Linked DNA regions of Homo sapiens: region 2 is linked to region 1. Evidence: promoter capture Hi-C in human tissues and cell types (Jung and others, 2019). All regions are on one chromosome and are shown on one strand. Each heading gives the region's core, a stretch centred on a gene start or on the middle of the fragment in contact. The rest is flanking DNA. Distances are from core to core; before and after follow the strand shown.

Evidence for each region. Contacts are between HindIII fragments. The study calls those that stand out against the background at their distance.
Region 2: the fragment with the promoter of CLEC4G here is called in contact with the fragment with the promoter of RETN in region 1 in 1 of the 25 tissues and cell types used here (stomach).

What each region holds. Positions count from the first base shown.
Region 1 is chr19:7,667,408-7,670,773 of GRCh38, forward strand. It overlaps RETN (resistin), which reads left to right and starts at 1,642. Exons shown (of 4, transcript NM_020415.4): 1 at 1,642-1,714; 2 at 1,910-2,037; 3 at 2,414-2,491; 4 at 2,812-3,048. The coding sequence starts at 1,920. The coding sequence ends at 2,942. The HindIII fragment of the contact is 23,719 bases long and covers 1-3,366 here.
Region 2 is chr19:7,730,860-7,733,559 of GRCh38, forward strand. CLEC4G (C-type lectin domain family 4 member G) reads right to left here and starts at 1,251. Exons shown (of 9, transcript NM_198492.4): 1 at 1,189-1,251; 2 at 802-912; 3 at 407-460; 4 at 167-229. The coding sequence starts at 1,243. RefSeq lists promoters at 1,246-1,852, 1,246-1,558, 1,246-1,509 and a cis regulatory region at 1,316-1,325. The HindIII fragment of the contact is 14,896 bases long and covers 1-2,700 here.

The DNA.
Region 1 (3,366 bases), core at 392-2,891:
CATGGTGGTGCACGCCTGTAATCCCAGCTACTCGGGAGGCTGAGGCAGGAGAATTGCTTGAACCCAGGAGGTGGAGGTTGCAGTGAGCCAAGATTGAGCCACTGTACTCCAGCCTGAGCAACTGAGTGAGACTCTGAAACAAAGAAACAAACAAAAGCAATGGTTAAAATGGAACAAGATGGTGCATACCTGTAGCTTCAGCTACTGGGGAGTCCAAGGTGGGAGGATTACTTGAAGCCAGGAGTCTGACACTAGCTTGGGCAACATAGCAAGACCCCGTCTCAAAAAAAAAAAAAAAAAGGCCGGGCACGGTGGTTCACGCCTGTAATCCCAGCACTTTGGGAGGCCAAGGCGGGCAGATCACAAGGTCAGGGGATCGAGACCATCCTGGCTAACACGGTGAAACTCCATCTCTACTAAAAAAAAAAAAATACAAAAAATTAGCTGGGCGTGGTGGCAGGCGCCTGTAGTCCCAGCTACTTGGGAGGCTGAAGCAGGAGAATGGCGTGAACCCAGGAGGCGGAGCTTGTAGTGAGCCGAGATCGCGCCACTGCACTCCAGCCTGGGCGACAGAGCAAGATTCCGTCTCAAAAAAGAAAAAAGTAAGTTATAATGGTAAGTTGTATGTTATATGTATTTTACCACAAAAAGGCCCGTTGTACTGGAAACAAAGAACAAATAAAAATGTAATAACCATTCCAAGCTCATGGGTGGTCCAAGAAGAAACATGAGCTGGACCTTGGCCCATGAGCAATGGCTTTCCAACTTCTGTTGCAGGTGATGCCATTGATGGAATAAACCATGATTTTTCTTTCTTCTTTTTGAGATGGAGTCTTGCTATGGTGCCCAAGCTAGTCATCCAGGATGGAGTGCAGGGGCACGATCTCAGTGCACTGCAACCTCCACATCCCGGGTTCAAGTGATTCTCCCACCTCAGCCTCCCAAGTAGCTGGGATTACAGGCACACGCCACCACGCCCAGTTAATTTTTGTATGTCTAATGGAGACAGGGTTTCATCATGTTGGCCAGGTTGGTCTCAAGCTCCTGACCTCAAGTGATCCGCCCGCCTTGGCCTCCCAAAGTGCTGGGATTACAGGCGTGAGCCACCGGCCATAAACCATGATTTTATTTACCAGTTCTATTGCTCATGGGCATTTGGGTATGAATGTGGTATGTCATTCTCACCCAGAGACATAATTATTATTACTATTTTAGAGAAGTGGTCTTGCTCTGTTGCCCAGACTGGAGTGCAGTGCTGTGATCATAAGTCACTGTAGCTTCGAACTCCCGGGCTCAAGCAATTCTCTCACGTCAGCCTCCTTAGTAGCTGGGACTACAAGTGCTTGTCCGCACCATGCCTAGCAAGAGGCATTAATTTTGTCATGTTTGCATCAGCCACCCTTGCATGCAAAACTCTGCTTGTCTACCTGTTCCTCAGACCACAGCCCCTGGCATTATCCCTGGGGCACCACCTCCTGACCAGTCTCTGGACATGAAGACGGAGGCCCTGTTGGAAGTGGGAAGGCTCCCTTCCTCCTCCAGCCCTTACTGTCTGCTCAGGGGCTTCCTCTTGGCCCCGGATGTGGGACCGGAGGGTTGGGGGCCCAGGGACTTATTAGCCAAGCCAGGAAGCCCCACCCCAAGAGGCCTCAAAGAAAGAGCTGCGGTGCAGGAATTCGTGTGCCGGATTTGGTTAGCTGAGCCCACCGAGAGGGTAAGTGACAGCTGCTCCTGCGCTTGCCATGGCACCAGCGGGGAGGCTGGGGTCAAGGCTGAGCCTCCATCCCTGTCCCCCACATGGGGGGACAGGGGTCCAGGTCCAGGGGCAGATCCTACTCCCTCCATGGGCCGGATCTTCCCCACAGGGCAGGGCTGATCCAGCTGTGGGTCTCTTGGTTCCCTCTTTCAGCGCCTGCAGGATGAAAGCTCTCTGTCTCCTCCTCCTCCCTGTCCTGGGGCTGTTGGTGTCTAGCAAGACCCTGTGCTCCATGGAAGAAGCCATCAATGAGAGGATCCAGGAGGTCGCCGGCTCCCTAAGTGAGGACCCCCCACTTGGGCAAGCTCCCCAAGGGTCTCAGAGACCTCACTGATCCCTGGCACAGACCTGACTCCAACCCAGCCCCAGCGCTCACCAAATCTCATCCTCAAATCCAACCAGATCATAAATTCAACCCCAACTCCACTCCCAACCCCTCCGACTGTCCCCACCTTATCCACGGCTCCAAACCCAATCCCCGCTCTCACTCCAAACCTTCCCTTACTCCAAAACACCCAACTCAAGACAGGGTCCTGGAGGCCAGTGAGCTCCTATGCCCACAGGGACCTAGCTCCAAACCAACAGGGCTAGGGGAGGATGGGGGAGGGACCGTTTGGTCTCACAGCTCCCCCTGTCTCCTTTCCTCCTGCCCCCCAGTATTTAGGGCAATAAGCAGCATTGGCCTGGAGTGCCAGAGCGTCACCTCCAGGGGGGACCTGGCTACTTGCCCCCGAGGTGAGTGCAGGAGACTGTTGTCCAGGCGCCCATTTCTGTTCCAAGTCCCCTGGGAATGCCCCCTCCCCGCCACGTTCCCCGTGTCCAGCCTCTACTCCCCTAGGATCTTGGTCCTGACTCCCAGCCTTCTCCGCCCACCATCTGGACACTGGTGTCCACCCTCACTCCCTGCCTCCAGTGCCCATTCAGTGGTTGGAGCCTCCAGCCGTCCCCGTCCCCACCCCCGCCCCCCCAACCCCCCTCCGCGCTCCCCACCCCCCTCCCGCTCCCACCCTCAGCCTCCCAGCTCAGAGTCCACGCTCCTGTGTTCCGGGCTGCAGGCTTCGCCGTCACCGGCTGCACTTGTGGCTCCGCCTGTGGCTCGTGGGATGTGCGCGCCGAGACCACATGTCACTGCCAGTGCGCGGGCATGGACTGGACCGGAGCGCGCTGCTGTCGTGTGCAGCCCTGAGGTCGCGCGCAGCGCGTGCACAGCGCGGGCGGAGGCGGCTCCAGGTCCGGAGGGGTTGCGGGGGAGCTGGAAATAAACCTGGAGATGATGATGATGATGATGATGATGATGATGGAGCGGATCTGAGCCCTGCGTGGTTTCTTTAGTAGGCCCGGAGGGACTGATCTAGCGTCTCCAAGAGAGTGGGGCGCGTAGCTGCTGGAGGGGGCGGGGACACCGCGACTTTCTACTGCCCCATCGCCCTTCCTCCTATGGGGTCTCCAACTGCTTCCTCCGAAAATAGGGCCTGAACTTCCTCTAGTGACGTCCCCACCCAAGGCTCATGGCTGCCTTCAAGAGGTGACGTCTCATCTTTGAGGCTACCTTGACGCTCACCCTGGGGTCTCCGACCTCCCCAGGAAGTGGCTGGGTCCTTTTCCCCCAG
Region 2 (2,700 bases), core at 1-2,500, 63 kb after region 1:
CTGGGAGCCGCAGGGTGAGAGGGGCGAGGGCGGCGAGGATGGGGCGGGACTTCGGAGACCAGCCCCCGCCCCGCACCACCCGCCGCAGGCCTCCGCCCCGGCCCCCCTCCCATCGCGGCCGCAAGACCCCATCCCTGCGCCCACAGCCTCGACCGCGCCCCCTCACAGCAGCTGTGGCAGTCTCCGACCTCCTCCTTCAGGGCACCCAGCGCCGCCGTCTGCTTCGAGGCTGGAACGACCCCCGCCCCAAAATGCATGCCCCTCGGGTCACTTGGGAGGACTCAGGGGACCCCCTTCCAGCCTCAGGGACCATAGGGCCCCCACGCACTCGAGACTCCATCTCCGGGGTCTCAGAAACTCCCGCCCCTCACGCCCCGGGGGCCCAGGCGCCCGGCTCTGCACACACCGTTTGTCCTCAGCAGGTCGTGGCCGTCAAGCAGCGCCGCGCGCTCCGTGGAGGCTGAGGAGAGAGGCTCCTGCAGGCGAGGCCGGGAACTCGGGAATCCTCCCCTCGCCCGGGGGGTGCAGCGTCCCCCAACTCGGGAGCACGGAGCGGGCGGGCAGGCATACAGCTCACACGATGTGCACACACGCCGATGGGAGACAAACGCGCGGGGACTCGCGCACATACGAGCACGCCATGTGCACACGCGTGAGTGCACACGGCCCAAAGATGTACACACACTCTGCTCACACTCAGACGCGAACAGGACCCCAGGATGCAGCTGGTGCGCCATGCAGTGGGGGTTTTCTGTCCCCAGGGGGGCCGGATGCAACACCTCCCCATTGAGAGTCACTCACCCTTGGACAATAGGATACTCAGAATCACAGCCCAAAGGACTGTGGTGACCAGGACAGCCAGGGCCAAGAAGAGGGGTCTCCTGCTCCAGTGCACCCAGCGTCCCCAGGGCCCTGGCATAACAAGGACGGCATGCTGGGTCCCCCAGAACTGAGCCCTGGAGGCCTGAGTTACTCCCAGGAAACTGAGATTCAGAGAAGTTAAGTAACTTGCCTATGGTCACACAGCTTCTAAGCGGCAGAGTTGGAATTGGACCCTGGTCCAACTGGCTCTATGGCCTGTGGTGTCTCTCCTGCACCCACAACCCTGGCCTGTCTCGACTCTTCCCTCCCCTCCCCCATCAAACCCCAGACACTGGGGCAGGGATGGGGCAGTCTCCTTGCTCATACCTCCGGGGACCTCCTCGGAGCTGCCGCCCCACTTGCTGTACCTGGTGGTGTCCATGGCGATGCAGGCACCCAGTCCTGGGCAGAGATATAAATTTCACGCCTGTTCTCACTGGACCTACGCACTCCCTTCCTTCCTTCCCATTTTCTTGGCCTTAATTCCTGGCAACGGGAACCCATGGACCAATCACAGGATTGGGCCCTTTCAAGGCTGGGCTGGGCTGGGCTGGAGTGAGGCCGGGCGGTTCCAGCCTCCTGGTTCTGGCCACTGCAGCTCCATCCCCAGGCTGGTGCTGGAGGCTTCTCTTTGGAGCTTAGTCACCATCTCTTATGGGCCTGGGGCTGGAGGCTTCTCTTTGGAGCTTAGTCACCATCTCTTATGGGCCTGGGGCTGGGTTTTATCCCGCGAGGGACACACTGAACCCGACCAAATTGTAACCCCTGCTGGCTCCTGAGAAAGCCCCCTCAGGCATAGCCCCCCAGGCCAGTTCAGGTCCCTTCTCAACTCCCCTGCAGGTGCCTGCAGAGGCTGGGTTTGAACCTGACCTTGATCCAGTCCCTCTGTACCAGAAGGGAACAAACAGTTTTGTTAGGGAGGTAGCCGGCGGAGCTGCAGGACTCTACCACTGTATGGGTTCTAGGTAGCTTCTAGAAGCCTTAGTTTTCCCCACTGTAAAGGAGATAGCGATGGGCCTCTCTCACAAAGATGCTATGATAAAGAAACAAGACAGTCTTGCTGGCTCACACCTGTAATCCCAGCACTTTGGGAGGCCGACATGGAAGGATCACTGAGCCCAGGAGTTCCAGACCAGACCAGCCTGGGCAATATAACAAGACCCTCATTTCTGAAAAAAAAAAAAAAATATATATATATATATATATATGAAAACAAAAATTGAAAAAATAAAAAAATAAAGACAATGAGGTTATACATGTCTACCTAGCACCATTTCAGGCATATCAAAAACACTCAGTGTTCATGCATTCTTTCAACAAACATTGAGCACCTGCCATATGCCAGGCATTGATCTTGGAACTGGGGCCACATCAGAGAGTAAAATAAGCAAATTCCTCTCTTCTTGGAGCTAATATTCTAGAAGTGTGGGGAGACAGACTCCATACTCAACGTAATAAACATAATTGAAAACATAAGTTGTATAGCATAGTAGTTCCCAGCTGGGGGCAATTACGCCCACCAGGGGACATTTGGCTATGTCTGGAGACACTTTTGGTTGTCACAGAATGTGTGTGTGTGTGTGTGTGTGTGTGTGTGTGTGCTCCAGGCATCTAGTGGGTAGAGGCCAGGGATGCTGCGCAAAGCCCTACAATGCCTAAGACATCCCCCATAGCAAAGAATGATCTGACTCCTAATGTCCATAGTGCAAAAGGTGGGAACCGTAGTATACTCTATTCAAAAGTCATAAATGCTATGAAAAAACATTAAGGGAAGAAAAAATCCAGTAGGATAAGTACTTGGCAGGACTGGGATGGGCACTAGGCAGTGGGCAGTGGCTA